2 separate regions of the Homo sapiens genome follow, and region 1 is linked to region 2. The links are contacts of gene promoters, found by promoter capture Hi-C in blood cells and fetal thymus (Javierre and others, 2016). All regions are on one chromosome and are shown on one strand. Each heading gives the region's core, a stretch centred on a gene start or on the middle of the fragment in contact. The rest is flanking DNA. Distances are from core to core; before and after follow the strand shown. Region 1 overlaps BIRC6 (baculoviral IAP repeat containing 6). Region 2 holds the start of HEATR5B (HEAT repeat containing 5B).

Region 1 (4,300 bases), core at 1,104-3,603, 4.6 Mb before region 2:
ACCCCTTCTCTAAAAAAAAAGAAAAAGAAAAAGAAATTAGCTAGGGTGTGGGTATACACCTGTAATCCCAGCTACTGTGGAGCCTGATGCAGGAGATTGATTGAACCAGTGAGCCCAGGAGGTGGAGGCTGCAGTGAGTCCTGATTGTGCCACTGCACTACAACCTGGGTGACAGAACAACACTCTTTCTCAAATAAATTAATGATCAGGAATAAGTCAGTAGTGACTATTGCCACTTTTTTATCTAATTTTATTCAAATAAACAGTATTTATACATACTTTGTGAGGATTTTGTGAAATTTTGAATGACATAATTAAAATCCCGTGAGGAATAAAGATTAGTCATCATTTGTTTTATTTTTCTTTTAACTAGGCTTTTTAATTTTAACTCTGCAGGCTTTAGCATAATCCGATCCACAGAGTTCACAACAGTGAAGATTTTCATACTAAACTTTTAATATATTTGCTCTAACATTTTCTAAAGGATTATTAATCTTGTTTGTAGTTTAGTCACATCTAATATTTAAGCAGAGATATTTTGAGGTTTATACGCCACAGAAACTGTTTAGGAATTTTCTCCACCTCACTTCACCACACATATACCCTGTACATTTTTGTGGCCTAGTTTATTTAAGAGGGTCCACAAAGCTGTGGCCCAAGAAGAATGTTAGTTTATGTTTGTTTTTAATAAAGGCTCTGGTATTCTGTGAAAGATCCAGCAGCTCTTTAGTTAGATTAATGATATAATAATATACACTGAAAGAAATACTCGGTATAAAGAAGGCATTCAGTTTTATCAGATGAGTGTTTTGCAAATACTATCTATTGGTCTTTGGACTCTGTTTTCACTTTATTAAGTAGCCTTCAAAAAGCAGAAGTTTTAAAATTCTAGATGTAATCTAAATTGTCAACTTTTATGTATTTTTTGTTGTTGTTACCCTCCTCACACAAAGTCTTAAATACCCTCCTCACACAAAGTCACACAGAATATTATGTTTTCTTCTAGAAATTTTACAATTTTATGTTTTATATTTAGGCTTGTTATTTTTTGCTTTCAGGATGAAGTTTTTTTTTTTTTTTTTTTTTGCCTGTGGATGTCCAACTGTTCCTATATCTTTGTTTCTTTTTTTGAGACGGAGTCTCTCTCTGTCACCCAGGCTGGAGTGCAGTGGTACGATCTCGGCTCACTGCAAGCGCCGCCTCCTGGGTTCACGCCATTCTCCCGCCTCAGCCTCCTGAGTAGCTGGGACTACAGGTGCCTGCCATCACGCCCTGCTAATTTTGTTTTTGTAGTTTTAGTAGAGACGGGGTTTCACCGTGTTAGCCAGGATGGTCTTGATCTCCTGACCTCGTGATCAGCCTGCCAAAGTGCTGGGATTACAGGCATGAGCCACCGCACCCCGCCTTCGTAGACCATTTTTTGAAAATACTTTCCTTTTTTCATTGGATTCCCTTTGTAGTTTTTCAAATATCAATCAATGATACTTGTTTTGATCTAATTCATACACTTTTTTTTTTTTGAGACAACTTTGCTCTGTCGCCCAGGATGGAGTGCTGTGGCGTGATTCAGACTCACTGCAACCTCCACCTCCTGGGTTCGTGCAATTCTCATGCTTCAGCCTCCTGAGTAGCTGGGATTACAGGCCCATCACCATGCCTGGCTAATTTTTGTATTTTCAGTAGAGATGGGGTTTTGCCATGTTGGCCAGGCTGGTCTCAAACTCCTGGCCTCAAGAGATCCACCTGCCTCCATTTCCCAAATTGCTGGGTTTACAAGCGTGAGCCACCACACCCAGCCTCATTTGTTCATACAGTGTATTATATAGAATTTATGTTTTTGTCTGTTTTTTATGCATTACCTCACTGTCTTAGTTCCCTTACAGTATTTTTTGAAATTTAGTAGTGTAGGCTCTCCACCTTTGTTCTTTATTTTTAGAGTTATTTTGGCTGTTTTAATTCCATTCCTTTTTCCTTATAAATTTTACAATCAGCTTATTGATTTTCCAGAAAAAAATCATTTTGAGTGAGATTGCATCATTCTGTAGATCAGTTTGGGCAGATGTATTGCTTGTTTGGCCATATTGTCAGAGAATACGGTTAGTTTAATTTCCTCCTTTCTTATGCATATGTCTCATGGGTTCCCCTCCCCCCATCCAGTTGTACTCGTTCGGACTTCAAGTATGCTGTTGAGTACATATGGTAAAAGTTACTCTTCCTTCTTTTTCTCAATCTTAAGATCTTATGAAACATTGTCTTTCATAATTAGATATGTTACTAGCTGGAGCTCTTTTTTAGATATGTGATAGTAAGTTGAGGAAGTTCCAGTTTGTTTCTAACTTGCTAAGACCTTAAAAAAATTATGAATGTCTCTGGATTTTGTTAGATGTTTCCCTGCATCTGTTGAAATGAACATAGATTGTTTCTTCTTTCATCTGTTCATACGTTGAATTATATTGGTGTTTTCTAAAGAGTTGAGATCTCACTATGTTGCCCAGGCTGGCTTTGAACTCCTGAGTTCAAGCAGGCTTTCAGTCTCATTCTGTTCTTAGCTGGCCCAATCGGCATATGCCACTACACCAAGTTTGATTTTTTTTGCTAAGTGTCAGTTAATGTGCATTCTCAAGGTAGACACCCTTGGTCATAACATATCAGTCCATTTTATAACTTGCTGAATTTATTCTCTGAATTTATTCTGAAAGAGGTTGTGTAATATGTGTATTGTCACTTACTTAAGTATTTGGTAGCATTTGCCATTGAAGCATCCTGTGGCTAGAGTTTTCTTTGCCCCAAAAATTTTCAACTTATTTTCTAGGTCTTGGACTATTCAGGTTTTCTCTTCTTGATTGAGCTTTGGTAATTTTGTGAAGGAAGTTGTTCCTTTACATTGTTGTATTTGTTAGTGGAAATATGTATATGTATTAATGTTTATAGGATCTATAAGTTTCCTTCATTTCTGATGTTGGTAATTTTTATCTTTTTTTGGGGTCATTCTGGCTAGAAGTTCATCAATATTATTTCAAAAAAAGGCAGCTTATAGATTATTTCTTCTTTTCTACTTTCTTTGAATTTAATTTGATCTTTATGGCTTAGATAATTGATTTTAGACCTTTCTTTTCTAATACAAGCATTTGACAAAGTCAGAATTGGTCTATATAGACTATATAGACTACATACATTTAATGTAATTATTGACATGCTGGATTAAAATTGATCATTTTGCTATTTTTCTATTTATTTCATCTATTTTTGATTCCTTTTAAGAAATCTTTTTCTGTTGACTTTTGAATTAAGCAACTTTTAAAATAATTTCATTTCCATCCTTATTTATAACTGAATTTCTTATTTATTTTTGAGACAGTGTTTGTTTGCTCTGTCGCACAGGTTGGAGCGTAGTGGTGCGATCTTGGCTCTCTGCAACCTCCGCCTTCTGGGTTCACGTGATTTTCGTGCCTTAACTTGCCGAATAGCTGGGATTACAGGCTTCTGCTATGCTACTACACACGGCTAATTTTTGTATATTTTGTAGGCGTAGTTTCACCAGGTTGGCCAGGGTAGTCTCGAACTCCTGAGCTCAAGCAATCCACCCGTGTCACTGGCATTACAGGCATGAGCCACTGTGCCCGGCCTATAACCGAAAATTTTTAATATTAGTTGTCCTAGTTTTACAAGATATACCTTTATTTAATCACATTCCACTTTAAAATATTATTCCGTTCATGTATAATGTCAGAACTTAACAGTGTAGTTTCAGTTCCTTTCTTCCGTCTTTTGTGACATAGTTGTCATGTTTTTACTGTTTATATATGCTATAAACACAATACTGTGCAACCTTTTTTTTATTTTTTATTTTTTTGCTTTAGACAGTCTTTGTTTGTTTTTTGAAATAGACTTTCGCTCTGTCACCCAGGCTAGAGTGCAGTTGTGTGATCTCAACTCACTGCAACCTCCTCCTCCTGGGTTCATGCAATTCTCATGCTTCAGCCTCCTGAGTAGCTGGGATTACAGGCCCATCACCATGCCTGGCTAATTTTTGTATTTTCAGTAGAGATGGGGTTTCGCCATGTTGGCCAGGTTGGTCTCAAACTCAAAAGTATTCTTTTGCCTTAGTCTCCTGAGTAGCTGGAATTAACAGTCACATGCCATCATGCCTGGCTAATTTTTGTATTTTTAGTAACAATGAGGTTTCACCATGTTGGCCAGGCCGGTCTTGAACTTCCTGGCGCCACAAGTGATCTGCCCACCTGGGGCTCCCAAAGTGATGGGATTACAGGCATGAGCCACTGCACCTGGCCTAATTTGC
Region 2 (3,997 bases), core at 572-3,071:
AACCGCTTAAAGGCGCTCTTAAACCACAAACAATACCATGAGCGATCTGCGCCTTAAGGGCATGTTCCTGCTGCACAGAACTAGCCAGACCCACCCCTTTGTTTCAGCATACCCCTTCGTTTCCCATAAGGGATACTTTTAGCTAATCGAATATCTGTAGAAACAATGTTAATGGCTGGCTTGCTGTTAATAGACACTTGAGTAAATCTCTGTTCCGGGGTCTCAGCTCTGAAGCCTGTGAGACCCCTGATTTCCCACTTTACACCTCTATATTTCTGTGTGTGTCTTTAATTCCTCTAGCGCCGCTAGGTTAGGGTCTCCCCAAACGAGCTGGTCTCGGCAAATCAAGGCTATGCAGGAAGAAAAAACAGATTAAAAAAAAAAAAGAGCCTATTATTGACTCCTCAAAGAGATAAGTGAAGACACTGGGATTGTTAGGCAGCATAGAGAGATCACTTGCAACGGGTGACGATGATAAATTTAAAGTGACACCAGTCATATAGCCATGTTTTTCTCCAGTTACAATGAGCTGCCCAGGTACAAACATAAAGAAGATAGGCAATGAGCTGGATTTAAACGAGGTTTGAGTTTTGCCACTAAATTTCCCATTCGTGTAATACTCTCAAGTTCCATAAGTGACCCATAAACCTTCCAAAACATAACATGTGTTTTCTTAAGAATCATGACCACATAATCTCTTCACGTTAATGCAACTGGGAAAAAAGAGCAATACCATACCTTGTTGGCAGCAACCAAGACTTTATCAAGAAATCGCAACCATTCAAAGATGAAAACTGGTCTTTTTGCTTCGGTGATTTGAGCCAAAGCTTCTTCATTTAGCAATAAACTGTGGGCTAACTCCATTACGGAAGTTTGAAATTCACACCTTAAATTTAACAGAGTAAAAAATACTTGTAAGTATTTTTTAATGTTAAAAGTCAAGCTTAATGGAATATACTCACTAAGAAAAGTAGGACTACTCATTTCATTTGGGGAAAAACTCAACTTCTTTGAGGCAAAACCTGAGAACATACTTTTAAATGACAAAAATACAAACAAAAACAGAAGAAAACTACTTGGTAAGGAAGAGTGACTCATGGAGTGAAAAGAAAATTAAAAGAAATTATTGCCAAAAAAGGCATTATTCCAGAAGAAATATGTCCAGCAACACATATGTCATTTACCCGTTCTATAAATGAAAAAACTGAAGCACTAAGATCAAACACCCCAGCCGGGCTTGACAACCATCCTCCTCTTTTTCTCGTCCAGGGTTCGGTACATAGCACCTTTACCCTCCCGCGCTGCACCTGGCCAGAGGGACTGAGGTCAAAACACCCAGCACAGACATCCCGAACTGCAGGTCTCCAAGACTCTTCCTACGCGGATGGGTGGGGCGGCCAGGCCCGGCGGCCGAAGCGTCAGTGACAACACCAGGCGGTCCGGAATGCACCCGAGAAGCCTCGCGCGCTCGGGGTCTGGCTTCACCTGGCTACTCCAAGAACCGCAAGCGGCGGACCCGGGGAAACACCAAGAGGCCGCCGCAAGCCTCCGTGGGGTTCCGCAGGCTGTCAATAGCACGAGGCGGCAGCTCGGAACTAAGCACGGAGCCAGAAAAGGGAAAATGTTCATTACGAACTCAAATGTCTTCCCCACCCGTCTGAAAATGTACGTCGGACAGGAGTCCGTGCGTGTCAACATGCATGCTTCGGCGACCTCACCTCGTAGTCTGGAAGGGAAGATCAGCTGAGCTCCGGGGGTAGAAGCAGCCACCAAGAGACCCGGATGCCCCACCTCCCGCACTCCTACCTGCAGGAAACAAGGGAAGAGCGCTTGCGCGGAGGGCTGGTCTTGCGCAAGCGCAGTCACCACGTCCTCCTATCCCCACCCGCCGCGAATTTCCAATAGAGTCTGCACTAGGAAACTGGTGGGAGCCGAGGTCCGGAAGTCCGACGCTGGTCGGTGGGCGCATGCGCAGCGCGCGCTCTACGGCGCTGAACCGGGGCGAGCAGAGAGCTGTCAGGTAAGAGAGCTGTCAGGTAAGGGTCTGGGGACAACCGGTAGAATGATAAAAGGCAGAGTGCGCTGGCCATGACTACCGTATCACACCGTCAGCCACTTTTCCATCCGTGGGTGGTTGCGTCTGTGGGACGCTTGCAGCCAGGAGGAACGCGTGAGGGAAGGGATCAGCGGTTCCTGAGCGTAGTATTGAGAGTGGGACGTTTCTTGTCACATTTATACTGTAGGTCCATTTCTCCACTTGTATATGTAATGGGACTCTCAATATGTCTGTTTCCCGACTACGCCCCCTAAAAAAACAAAAACAAACCTACTCCTACAGTCTTCCCACTCTCAAAAAACGTTAACTCCGTTCTTCCATGTATTCAGGCCAAAAACTTAGCGTTATCTTGACATCGTTCTTTACGTACTACCTACAACATCAGCAAATCCTGTAAGCTCTACCTTCAAGTGTACCCCAAATGCGACCACTTGCATTGCTATCACTCTGGTACGAGCCTCCATCATCTCTGCCAGGGTATCGCCTTGTGAAGTTTATGCTTATCTTTGATGGAAATGGATAATGCTAAAGTATATTTTACCAATAGAAAGAGAGCTTTAAAAGCAACCTGTAACCCCATTCAGATGTGCCTGGCACTTTAAAGTTAAGTAGGTCTCTTAAAAACAATGTAATCCTATTTGCAAGGCACTATGACCCGGATTCTTTGTGGTTTTGAAATAGTCATTTAGCCATACTGAACCTTAATTTCTCCAACAGGAAAAACTCTTCCTACCTTGTAGAGTTGTTAGTGGTGGTTAAATGTGATAAAAATGTGTGATATACTGGGTAAGTGTTAAACCATTATGTGTAAAAATGCTGTTATTACCAATGAAGAATCTGAGGTTTAGAGGAAGCGGGTGAATTACCATAAATGCTGTATATAATAGTGCACGTTTTTAACTTATAATAAAAATAGGTAAACTAAACTGTAATGTTTAAAGATGCACACGTGGATGACAAAACTATCGAGAAAATGAAGGAAATGATTGCCATAAAAAACAGAATAGTGACTATTCTTAGAACCAAAAGAGAGTTGCAACTGGATAGGGGACAAAGAGGGCTCCCAGGTGCCTGATAAGGTTCTACTTCCTGATAACTTTTGCTACATAACAAATTATCCCCAAATGTAGCAGCTTAAGATAACTGTAATCATTTGTTATCTCACAGTTTCTATGGGTCAGGAATTTGTTAGCAGCTTAGCTTAGTTTAGCATGGACTTTCTTAAGAAGTTGCAGTGAAGATGCCAGCCCAGGCTGAGTCATTTGAAGGCCTGACTGGAGCAAGAGAATCCATTTCCAAGGTAGCTCACTCCTGTGGCTCATGAGTTTGTGCTGGCTTTTAATAGGAGGACTCAGTTCCAATCGTGTGACCTTCTCCATAGAGCTTCTTGAGTATCCTTATTATGTGACCACTGACTTCCTTCAAGTGAGTCATCTAACTTCAAAGTTAGAATGACCTAAGAGCTGCAGTTATGACCAAAAAATCAACTCCATCATCTCCACAAAATCCTGTTGGTTACACAGGTTAATCCTGTTCACTGTGGAAGGAGACTACACTAAGGATGTAGAAAACCACACAGCAAGAATGACTGGGAGTCATTTTGGAGGGTACCACATGGTTACAAGAATGTTTGACTCACAGAAATGTATTAAGCTGTACATTTGTTTTATGTGTTTTCTGTACGTATTTAAAAAGTGTTTAAAAATGACTTGTTGACATAGGAAAAAGTTATAAAATTACAAATATTAAAGACCCTTTTTATCCTCATTGTTGCTAAACAATTATTAAGCATTTGTGTTTGGGATGCAGTGGTAGGTAGGGAGGATATAGGGGACTTGTCTTTGTGTTTAACACAAGATATACATTATCTAGTTGAGAAGATATACATTAAAAATATAAAAAACCAGGCCAGGTGTGGTGGCTCACGCCTGTAATCCCAGC

Evidence for each region. Contacts are between HindIII fragments. The CHiCAGO score rates a contact against its expected background, and 5 or more counts as called.
Region 1: a contact is called between a fragment that was not itself captured here and the fragment with the promoter of HEATR5B in region 2, in 1 of 17 cell types (M1 macrophages). The highest score is 7.5, in M1 macrophages.

The regions. Positions count from the first base shown.
Region 1 is chr2:32,494,726-32,499,025 of GRCh38, forward strand. The region is part of intron 45 of BIRC6 (baculoviral IAP repeat containing 6); the gene reads left to right. Among named protein-coding and RNA genes, the nearest start is that of MIR558, 35 kb to the right of the region's middle. The HindIII fragment of the contact is 6,283 bases long and covers 1-4,300 here.
Region 2 is chr2:37,082,551-37,086,547 of GRCh38, forward strand. It overlaps HEATR5B (HEAT repeat containing 5B), which reads right to left and starts at 1,822. Exons shown (of 36, transcript NM_019024.3): 1 at 1,719-1,822; 2 at 739-886. The coding sequence starts at 864. GPATCH11 (G-patch domain containing 11) reads left to right here and starts at 1,968. Exons shown (of 9, transcript NM_174931.4): 1 at 1,968-2,020. RefSeq lists enhancers at 1,330-1,429, 1,900-2,059. The HindIII fragment of the contact is 3,413 bases long and covers 942-3,997 here.